2 separate regions of the Homo sapiens genome follow, and region 1 is linked to region 2. Evidence: promoter capture Hi-C in 16 types of primary human blood cells and fetal thymus (Javierre and others, 2016). All regions are on one chromosome and are shown on one strand. The core of a region is centred on a gene start or on the middle of the fragment in contact, and the rest is flanking DNA. Distances in the headings are between cores, read along the strand shown.

Region 1 (5,008 bases), core at 2,480-4,979, 300 kb before region 2:
GCCCAGGCTGGAGCGCAATGGCACGATCTCAGCTCACCGCAACCTCCACCTCCCGAATCCTTCTGCCTCAGCCTCCCGAGTAGCTGGGATTACAGGCACCCATCATCATGCCGGGCTGATTTTTATATATTTGTAGAGACAGGGATTCACCATGTTGGCCAGGCTGGTCTCGAACTCCTGACCTCAGATGATCCACCTGCTTCGGCTTCCAAAAGTGCTGGGATTACAGGTGTGAGCCACCACACACCAGGCCCCTGGTGTGTACTATTATCCCCATTTTATAGATGAGAAAACAGAATTGAGACGCCAAGTACATTGTTGAAGATCACATGACTCATAAGTGATGGAGCTAGGACTTGAATCCTGTTTTTCCCAACTCTGAAACAGTAGGATGGAACAGAGTACCCAATCCATTTCCTGTGCTGTTCAAAATGAGCAGAGGGTAGAAGTTACAGGGGCACAATTACAGGGCTCAGCAGAAACATTTCTCTCAGAATTAGAGCTGAGCCAGAAAGTAACCTGCAGCACTTAAGAAATGGAAGTGGAGGTAGCTGATGGGGAGAAGCATCTGGTAAGAGCATGGTATGGACATTTGTCATGTTTCCTCAATGCCCAGCCCTTTAGAACACCCTTTCTATACCAAGCAACACAATTTCCATATTAGGTGACTCTCTTCCCTAAGCCACAGCCTGAAAGCATGTTTTCCCAGCCTCTCTTGCAGCTAGCGCACAGACATGAGACCAGGCTTCAGCAACTGGAGTGTCCAGACTGTGATTCAAGAAGAGGGACATGGAGTCCATTTTGCTAAAGAGGCTGTTTTTTTGAGGGTGGTGGTGGCCACAAAGCCTACTTTCTGGCACAGAGCTGGCATTGGAGCTGGTGACAGTGGTGACTTTGGTGAAATCAGGCTCCTGATAGAGGCAAACTAGCTGCTTAGTGGCAGCATCAGTAGTGGATTCCTCATCAGACTAGATTGATGCTTTCAAGTTTGGCTCCTGAATTTTGAGCCCTATTCTGCTGCACCCTAGCAGATTGACAAGCCCCCAGTGTGCTCTCAATAAACTCCTCTCCAGCCTAATGGGCTGGGGGCCACTTCTGTTGCTCACCATGTAGAACGCTGACCAAGACAAGCGCCCAGAGGGAATTTCTATACTGTGCAGAGTTGGACACAAACACCTCTTATCCCTGTCAAGGGCTGATTCCAGAGTCTAGAGAATTTTTGTCAATCAGCTGGAGAGGCAATTTCTAGTGACTTTAACACACTGGTGAAATGGCTCTGAAAACTTGAAGGCAAGACCTGTTAGGGGCATATTAGTCAGGGTTCTTCAGGCAGACAGAACCAACAAGGGAGAAAAACAGGAAAGGAAGAAGGAAGCAGGGAAGGAAGGAAGGAAGGAAGGAGAGAGAGAGAGAGACAGACAGACAGACAGACAGACAGAAAGAGAAAGAGAAAGAAAGAAGGAAAAAAGAAAGGGGAAGAGAAGAAAAGAGAGAGAAGGGAGGGAGGGAAGGAAAAAAGGAAAGAAAAAGGAAGAGAGGAAGGGAGAAGAAGAAGGAGGAGGAGGAGGAGAAGGAGAATAGAAGGAAGGAAGGAGAAAAGAAAGAGATTGAGAGAAACATTGATTTTAAGGAACTGGCTCACATGATTGTGGAAGCTGACAAGTGCGAAATCCAAAATCTGCAGGGTAGGCCAGCAGCCTGGAGATCCAGGGAAGAATTGCAGTTCAAGTCCAAAGACCATCAGCCAGCAGGATTCCTTCTCCCTCAGAGAGGTCAGTCTTTTTCTCTTAAGGCCTTCACCTGGTTAGATGAGGCTCACCTACATTATGGAGGGTAATCTCCTTATTCACAGTCTACTGATTTAAATGTTAAATCTCAACTAACATATACCTTCACAGAAACATCTGGAATAATGTTTGACTATATATCTGAGCACTGGGGCCTAGCCAAGCTTACATATAAAAATTAACCATCACAGGACCCGTACCAAGCAATGTAATTATTTGATAGAGGTTGATGTACATAATTATTGATGTAATTATTTGACAAGTTGAGATTCTCATTTTACAAAACACTGTTTTTGTCCCTGTATGTCTCTGAACTTCACACAGCACCTGGCACAAAGACTTGACGTGTGTTTCAGAGATGGGTGTTTGGATGGCTGGGTAAGTGGTAGGTCTTATTGTCCAGTTTTTTGACAGCATTTTATTTTTCTTCTCTGCATCTTATCAACATTTTTTATATATTTCGAAAGTACATGGCCAGTCATGGTGGCTCACACCTGTAATCCCAGCACTTTGGGAGGCCGAGGAGGGTGAATCACCTGAGTTCAGGAGTTCAAGACCAGCCTGCCCAACATGGCAAAACCCCATCTCTACTAAAAATACAAAAATTAAATGGGCGCGGTGGCATGCACTTGAAATCCCAGCTACTCAGGAGGCTAAGGCACCAGAATCGCTCGAACCTGGGAGGCAGGGGTTGTAGTGAGCCGAGATCACCCTACTGCACTTAAGTCTGGGTGACAGAGTGAGACTCTGTCTCAAAAATAAATAAATAAATAAAAATAATTTCCTCTGTTGGTGTGGGGAGCAAGGGCGGTTGTCTGGAGCATCGCTCTTTAACTGAGGTAAGTCTTTAGGCACGAGCAGGAGTTGAGTTGGCACGGTGATTAGCCCAGGGAGATGCAGGTTTAAAGGGTGCACACCCAGCAGCAGAGGGAACAGCACGTGCAAAGAAGAAAAACAAGGAAGAACACAGTGCCGTCCTAAAGATGCAGCTAGTTTTGGTGCTGTTGGTTTTGTGGTTATTGCTTATTTTAATATCTCTGGAAAAGTCACAAAAATGGGGTTTAGCCTAGATAAGGAAAAATTGAGCTCAACTGGTTTGTGTAAGGAATAGGTTTCATATCCTCAGGAAACTGATTAGGAAGAAATAGGTTTAAAAAGGAGGGTAGGAAACAAAGAACTTGAAATTACCACTAGGATAATCAAACTTGGGCTTGTGCTACAAATACCACGGAGCTGTGTGTGGAATATCCTTCCACCGGAGGCAGCCGGGAGGAAATGACCAGGACTGACTCCTTGCGGAGGCCAGACCAAGTGACTTCCACCATTTTGTGGCTAATGTTTGTGCAATGGATGGTGTAGCATCATAGTCTCCGACTCTTCCAGAAAATACTCCAGTTTAAATTGGCTACAAATACAATCAATTGTTTGGTCAGTGAAAGGCTGCAGTCTCTATGAACCTTACCATACGCATCTATTTCCATGAGCCAAAATGCTAATGCAATTCCATCCCGTGGAACTATTCCCCGTGGTTAGTCTAAAAATCAGCTTTACTCACCCGGTGAATCAACTGACCACAAAATCCCACTGAGGAAATAACATTGGGAAAGCACCCAAAAAGAATCCTGTTGTGATTTATTTGGAACAACCATTGCTATGTTTTTATTTTTATTTTTATTTATTTATTTATTTTGAGACAGAGTCTTCCTCTTGTCGCCCAGGCTGGAGTACAGTGGTGCGATCTCAGCTCACTGCAACCTCCGCCTCCCAGGTTCAAGGGATTCTCCTGCCTCAGCCTCCCAATTAGCTAAGATTACAGGCACCTACCACCACACCTGGCTAATTTTTGTGTTTTTAGTAAAGATGGGTTTTTGCCATGTTGGCCAGGCTGGTCTTGAACCCCTGACCTCAGGAGATCCACCTGCCTTAGCCTCCCAAAGTGCTGAGACTATAGGCATGAGACACTGCGCCTAGCCAAAAACATTGCTATGTTTTTAAAACACGGTTTTTCAATATTTTAAAAAGATGCCTTTTAAAATATTGATTGGGAAATGACATTTTCCAAGCCTACACCTTCATAGTTACATTGCCCTTAAGAGGTACACTTCTTATTGAGAATCTGTTTTCTCCCACAATATTGATTAAGTCAGGACAATTTGCCAGGCATCAATAATATGCTGCCTTCATGGGACTTACTGTCTAGAATTGCTGCTGCTTCTGCCTGTTCCCACTACTATATTTTCTTGAGCTTCACTTTCTATAATGTGTTATGAAAGCAGTAGGTATTTTTCATTTATCGTATTTTTAAAATATGATAATTATGTTAAATAGGTTTTTTCAAATGATGCATGTTCACCTGCTGAAATGCAAATGCCATCCCCCTTACCATACCCTCCCTCCAAGACACACCTGTTCCCCAAAAGAGACAAACAGATGTTTCTGGATCCTTCCCTTAAATATTTACTTATGATGTGGTAGTAGCTTTCACAACTGACCGTCTCTTAACTACCCTGCTGGATTCACTGTAAACCATGTAGACTTCTGTAAATGATGATGATTCCCATGACCCCTGAAACACCTGAAGCTGGCAGGCTCCACCTGACTTTGTCCATGGATTCCCACATATTGAATTAACCCTTTGCTCCCCAAACCTGTCAAAGCCAGTTTATTCATTCATGCACAGACATCTGAGCGCCTATGATGTGTACACACTGTTTTAAGCTCTGGAGACACTGCAGTGATAAAGAACAGAGAAGTCCTGTCCTCAAGGAGCTTCTATGCTAGTTATACTTATTTGCTTCTACGGTTTAATTACATGTTGTAAAACCTATTTAAAAATGAATGGGAAGCTGGGCATGGTGGTTCATGCCTGTAATCCCATCACTTCGGGAGGCTGAGGCAGGTGGATTACCTGAGGTCAGGAGTTCAAAACTAGCCTGGCCAACATGGTGAAACCCCGTCTCTACTAAAAATATAAAATTAGCCAGGTGTGGTGGTGATTGCCTGTAATCCCAGCTATTCAGGAGGCTGAGGCAGAAGAATTGCTTGAACTGGGTAGGCGGAGGTTGCAGTGAGCCTCGACTGCACCATTGCATGGAGTGACATGCATGGAGTGTTGCCTGGGCGACAAGAACAAAACTCTATCTCAGAAAAGGAAAAAAAAAAAAAAAAAGAATGGGAAAAGAAGTTCTTGCTCCTATGAAAACCAAGTTGAATGTTTTGGC
Region 2 (5,142 bases), core at 299-2,798:
CAAGTGCCATTTAAAATAGTAGCTATGAATGTATATAATTAGGATTTCAAGAACTGAATGAAAATATAAATGTTTTAAAAATGGGAAGAAAGATTCACAATAAGGAACTAGACTGTTGCAGGGTGGGGGTGGGGTGGTGGGTGGCATGGGGAACTCTGAAAACTCATTAGTTGAGGATAACTACGCCTACCAACAGAATGCAGAGGTGCAAGACTGAGCTACTGGTGCCTGAGTTCTCAGCGGGCCAGAAGGAAGGACGGTAGGGTGGAAGGGCTGGAGTCTCAGTTCTGGGAAGTCTCCCTCTTATCTCGCAGAATGCCTGTCCCTGGATAAAGATCATTAGTTTGAGTTTTTCCAAGATGATTCTAGGAAGCTCCTGCTGGTAACTAAGTCACCCATCCTGGGGTGGGATCCAGAGATTTAGATTTTTTATAAGCTTTCCTGCCACCGAAACGGGTGTTTGGGACCTCACGAGGCCCTGTTCATTCTTCGTCGCTGCGCTCCCCACTCTGTACTGGATGCATTTACTGACGTTGTTGTCTCCGTCCCCAGAGTATGAACCCCCAAGGTGACTCATGCAGCTGTGGGTGCCCGGCATACAGCATGGTGACTGGAATGGATGAGCACCCAATAAACATTTGTTGCAGGAATGCAGGAGGACGGGCAGGCCAGCAAGCAGGCTGCCTGGTTTTTCCCACATGGGCTTTTCTGGGAAAGAAGAGCTTCTATTTTTGGAAAGGGCTGCTATGATTGAGAAAAGTTCATGGCAGCAAAAAAAGGACAGACGTCGGGAGGGAAACACTCCTAGTTCTCCCAGACAACACATTTTTTAAAAAGACTCCTTCATCTCTTTAATAATAACGGTAACGACAATGACAATGATGATTACTTATGAGTGCGGCTAGTGCCAGCCACTGTGTTGTCACTGGGCGAGTAATGATCTCATTGGATCTTCACGGTGGGCGTGCGGGGTGGACAGCCTCACACCCCCATTTTACAGATGATGAAAAGGAGGTGCAGGGAGTGGTGCAGCTGCTTCAGGCGTACACAGATAGGAAGTGACAAGGCTGGGACTCTGCAGCCTGAGTGTGTCATCACGACCCACCCGCTGCTCTGCTCTCATAGGTATGACAGCACAGCTCTGGAGCAAATGCCACGCACATTTGCAAGGTGCCCATTTCCATGCAGCAAAAATAAGTCAATAAGTTATTGACTTACAGAAAAGCAAAGGGCCTCTCAATAAAGAGGTCATTGTACACCTCTCCAAACAGGCGATTTTCTTTCTCATTTTTATTCCCCTGCTGTGTGCTGAAGGTCACTGGCTACAAGCCGGTGAAGTCGCGGAATGGAATCCTTGGCCCGAAAACCCAAAAATGGGAGGGGCAGAGGAGGTGGGGACAGAGCGGGAGGAGGTGGAGGCGAAGCAATTCTACAACCCGGGGAGGTCTGGCCTGCTTTTCCTCCCTGAACTGGCCCAATGACTGGCTCCCTCACGCTGACCACTCCTCTGGGCTGGCCTCCTGCACTCGCGCTAACAGCCCAGGCTCCAGGGACAGCCTGCGTTCCTGGGCTGGCTGGGTGCAGCTCTCTTTTCAGGAGAGAAAGCTCTCTTGGAGGAGCTGGAAAGGTGGGTGCTAAGTTGAGGTTCATTTTGTTCTTCTCGGAGTGTGCTTATTGAGTCTGAAGCTGGGTTGGGGCAACGGGCCTCTTCTTGGGAACAAATTGGATCATCTTCTTGGGAAGGAAATGTACTTTCCCTGGCTGCTCTGAGGGGTTAGTGGGGAGGTGGAGTGAGCGGGGAGGAAGGCAAGGAGGGGAGGAAGAAACCGTTCCTCCTGTGGATCTGCAAAGACCAGTCCAAGAGGATTTTAGTGTTAGGAAAAGGAATCTGGAGTGACGAGAAAGGGGGCCTTTCTAGATGTTGCATGGCTTTGGTGTCGGGAGCCACTTATGGGACAGCAGGTACTCTAAAAAGCCACCTCCTTAGGAAAGCAGAGAGGCCCTGGCCAGCTCAGGCTCCCAGCAAGAGCTCCTTCTAGGAGACAGCTGAGGGATGAAACACACCCAAGGCTCAAGAGGGGCAGGTTCTTCCCAGATACAGACCCAGGAAGGAGATAAAGGCTTGGTGCCTCTATTTGGTTCAGGATAAGGGCCCCTGTCCTCTTTCTCTGATAACACTGTCCTCTTTCTCTGATAACACCGTCCTCCCTTCCAGATCCACGTACAAAGGAGGCCCTTAAAAAGGCACTTGGTCATTCACAGCTCAAACTGAGCAAGAGGCTGTGGGAGAAGAATCAAGTTGGTCCCGAGGGGAAGAGGTGTCAAAGGCTTAAGAAACAAGAAGTCAGAGTTTACCTGGGTTTGAGGGAGAATTTTCTTTCCCCCTTTTCCTCCTCCTCCTCCTTCTTCTCTTTTTTTTTTTTTTTTTTTTTTTTTTGAGACATGGTCTCATTCTGTCACCCAGCACCCAGGCTGGAATGTAGTGGCACGATCACTATCACGGCTCACTACAGCCTCTACCTCCCGGGCTCAAGCGATCCTCCTACCTCAACCTCCTGAGTAACTGGGACTACAGGCACATGCCACCACACCCAGCTATTTTTTTTTTTTTTTTTTGCTAGAGATGGGGGTCTCTACCAGGTTGGTCTCATACTCTTGTACTCAAATGATTCTCCTGTCTCATCCTCCCAAAGGGGTGGGATTACAGGCATAAGCCACCATGCCTGGCTCTTCTTTTGGTTTCAGAGAAAAACATCTCCTTAAAATGTTTATTTCCCAAGGATTCTTGAAAAAGAAAGCTCACTGACACACCCAAAACAATCTGGTTTTGCTCTGTGCTTTTAGGGAGAACTTTCTAAGCAGCAGAGCCCTTCTGAGTGGCAGGGCTGTCTTAGGAGGAAGGTGTCTTTGATGATGGGGAACTTCATGTCCAGGTCTGGCAGGAGAGTTACCCCACTTTCCTGCCTACTCCCTGGGGCTTTGGGGTAGTAGTACCACATTGGGCCATGTCATTTAGGTGAGTCCTTCAACATCACTTTCTCTGCTTCTCCCTCTTTCTGGATCCTCCTTCTTGGAGCCTTTCAAGGGGACCTCCTCTCACAGTGTCCATAGCATCTCTTAGCTAATGGTCCTTAAAATCTCTACCAGCAGCTCTCTCTGATAGCTAAGAGCTGCCATTTACTGGGAACTTTCTATGTACTGGGCTCTGTGCTAAGTGCCCTAGATGAGAGATGTGCAGTGTGGTGCCTAAACCTTGGGCTTGGAGCAGACACACACTTTCAAATCCTGCCTTCAGCTCCTTAGTGAACATGTCACCTTGGGCGGGACACACGCCTCTCTGTGCCTCAGTTTCCTACACTTTAGAATGGGGATAACACTGAATAATGTTCTTGTGAGGATGCAGGGAATTAACCCACGCACAGTACTTATAATAGTGTCTGGCGCCTGTGTTCGATAAGTTTTAGCAATTCTAATCATCTCTTTTAAGCCTCGCAGCAAGCCTCTAAGGTAAGTCTGTATTAGTATCCCTATTTACAGATGAGAAAACTGAGGTTCACAGGGGATGAGACAGTGTACAGTCTGCAGTCCAGCAATTACTCTGCTACTCAGCAATAAAAATAGTAACAGCTAACCCTTAGACTAAGTGGCAGAGTCAGGCTTTAGATTCATGAGGTGAGTTCTGGAATCCATCCCTTTAATAACCACACTAAATTGCCTTTCTGAAATGGTTATATAAAGCATATCTACCCAATCTTGGAGTTTTTTAAATGGCACCTAGTTTGGTGCTGGAAATGCAGTTGACCTTCAAAGCAATTCTTTGGAGGCAGCATCAATCCCTCTGGAAATACCTCGGTGGCATGGCTGGCCTTATTCTACAGGTAAGGAACTTGAAGCTAAGCATCAGTAACCCCGTGAAGTCACAGTTAGTATAGGTTGGAATTGGGATTCAAATCTGTACCTGACTTTATAATTCCTAGCTGGGCCCCAGAATCTTTGATAGAGGTGTCTTCTTTCTTTTCTTTTCTTTCTTTCCTCTTTCTTTCCCTTCCTTCCTCTCTCTCTGTCTTTCTTCTCTCCTTTCTTTCTCACAGAATCAAAATCTCTTGGGGTGGGGCCTGGGCATCTGATTTTTAAAAACCAGACATCTGATGTGCAGTCAACACTGAGAACCCCTGCCAGCTTCATCTCCTCTTCTAAGTGCCAGACCCAAGTTTCCGACTGTCTGCCCACCTGTCTTCCCACCTGGGCACCCGCCAGCGTCTCACCCTCAGGAGACTCCAGCTGAACTAATCCTCTCTCCCTGCTTTTCCAGAACAGGTCCCACCCTCCCTCCACTCAGTCTCTCCTGCTGGGAACCCTGGTCATCTGCACTGTGCCTTCATCTTCCATCCTGCCAGTGCTGCCCGGTGTGTCTCTTAAACCCATGCCTCCTCTGTGTGCACCACCTGCACTTTGGTAAAAGCCTTCATTTCCTGCTTGGGTTACTACAACGCCCCCTAACTCATCTCACTGTCTCTATTTCTGCTTCTCTGTCTCTCCCTAGGCTACTCCCATTCTTCCTCCCCTTTCCTCTTCATCCCAAAGTCCAACCCATATCCTTTTACCAGTAGGACTTAAGGAACTAAAGACTATCTCATCACCCACTTTTCTTCTTAAAAACTTCCACTGCACTGCCTGCTGAGATGGCCTTCCTACCCAACTTGGCTGGAAAACTCCTACCCATCTTGTGGAACCCAGTTCAAAAGTCACCACCTCTGAGAAGCCTTCCCTGAGGCTCCTAGGGAGATGGGTACTGCCTCCTCTGTCCTTCTCCAGCACAGGCCCCATCTTCAATCACAGGATTGTGCTGGAATGATTGGATGCCAAGTCTGTCCCTCACTGAACTCCTTATGCAAAATCCATATTATATGTTTCCTTTTGCCAGGTGTGGGCCCAGGTGCTGGGGATACCGATGAATAAAACTGAGTTTCTGTCTTCAAGAAGCTCCAAGTCTACTGAGTGTAGCAGAGAACAGGGAGAAGGCACTTCAGGGAGAAGGCGTAGCACATGCAAAGCCCCAGAAGGCAGGGACAGAAGCCTTAGGGATGTCTGTGGGGGAGGATGGAGGAAGAGGGTAACAGGAGACCAGGTGGGGAGATGAGG

The links. Contacts are between HindIII fragments. The CHiCAGO score rates a contact against its expected background, and 5 or more counts as called.
Region 1: a contact is called between a fragment that was not itself captured here and the fragment with the promoter of SOD3 in region 2, in 2 of 17 cell types (endothelial precursors and M2 macrophages). The highest score is 6.6, in endothelial precursors.

What each region holds. Positions count from the first base shown.
Region 1 is chr4:24,494,096-24,499,103 of GRCh38, forward strand. No RefSeq gene overlaps it. Among named protein-coding and RNA genes, the nearest start is that of MIR573, 24 kb to the right of the region's middle. The HindIII fragment of the contact is 3,560 bases long and covers 1,950-5,008 here.
Region 2 is chr4:24,794,025-24,799,166 of GRCh38, forward strand. SOD3 (superoxide dismutase 3) reads left to right here and starts at 1,549. Exons shown (of 2, transcript NM_003102.4): 1 at 1,549-1,627. The HindIII fragment of the contact is 8,707 bases long and covers 435-5,142 here.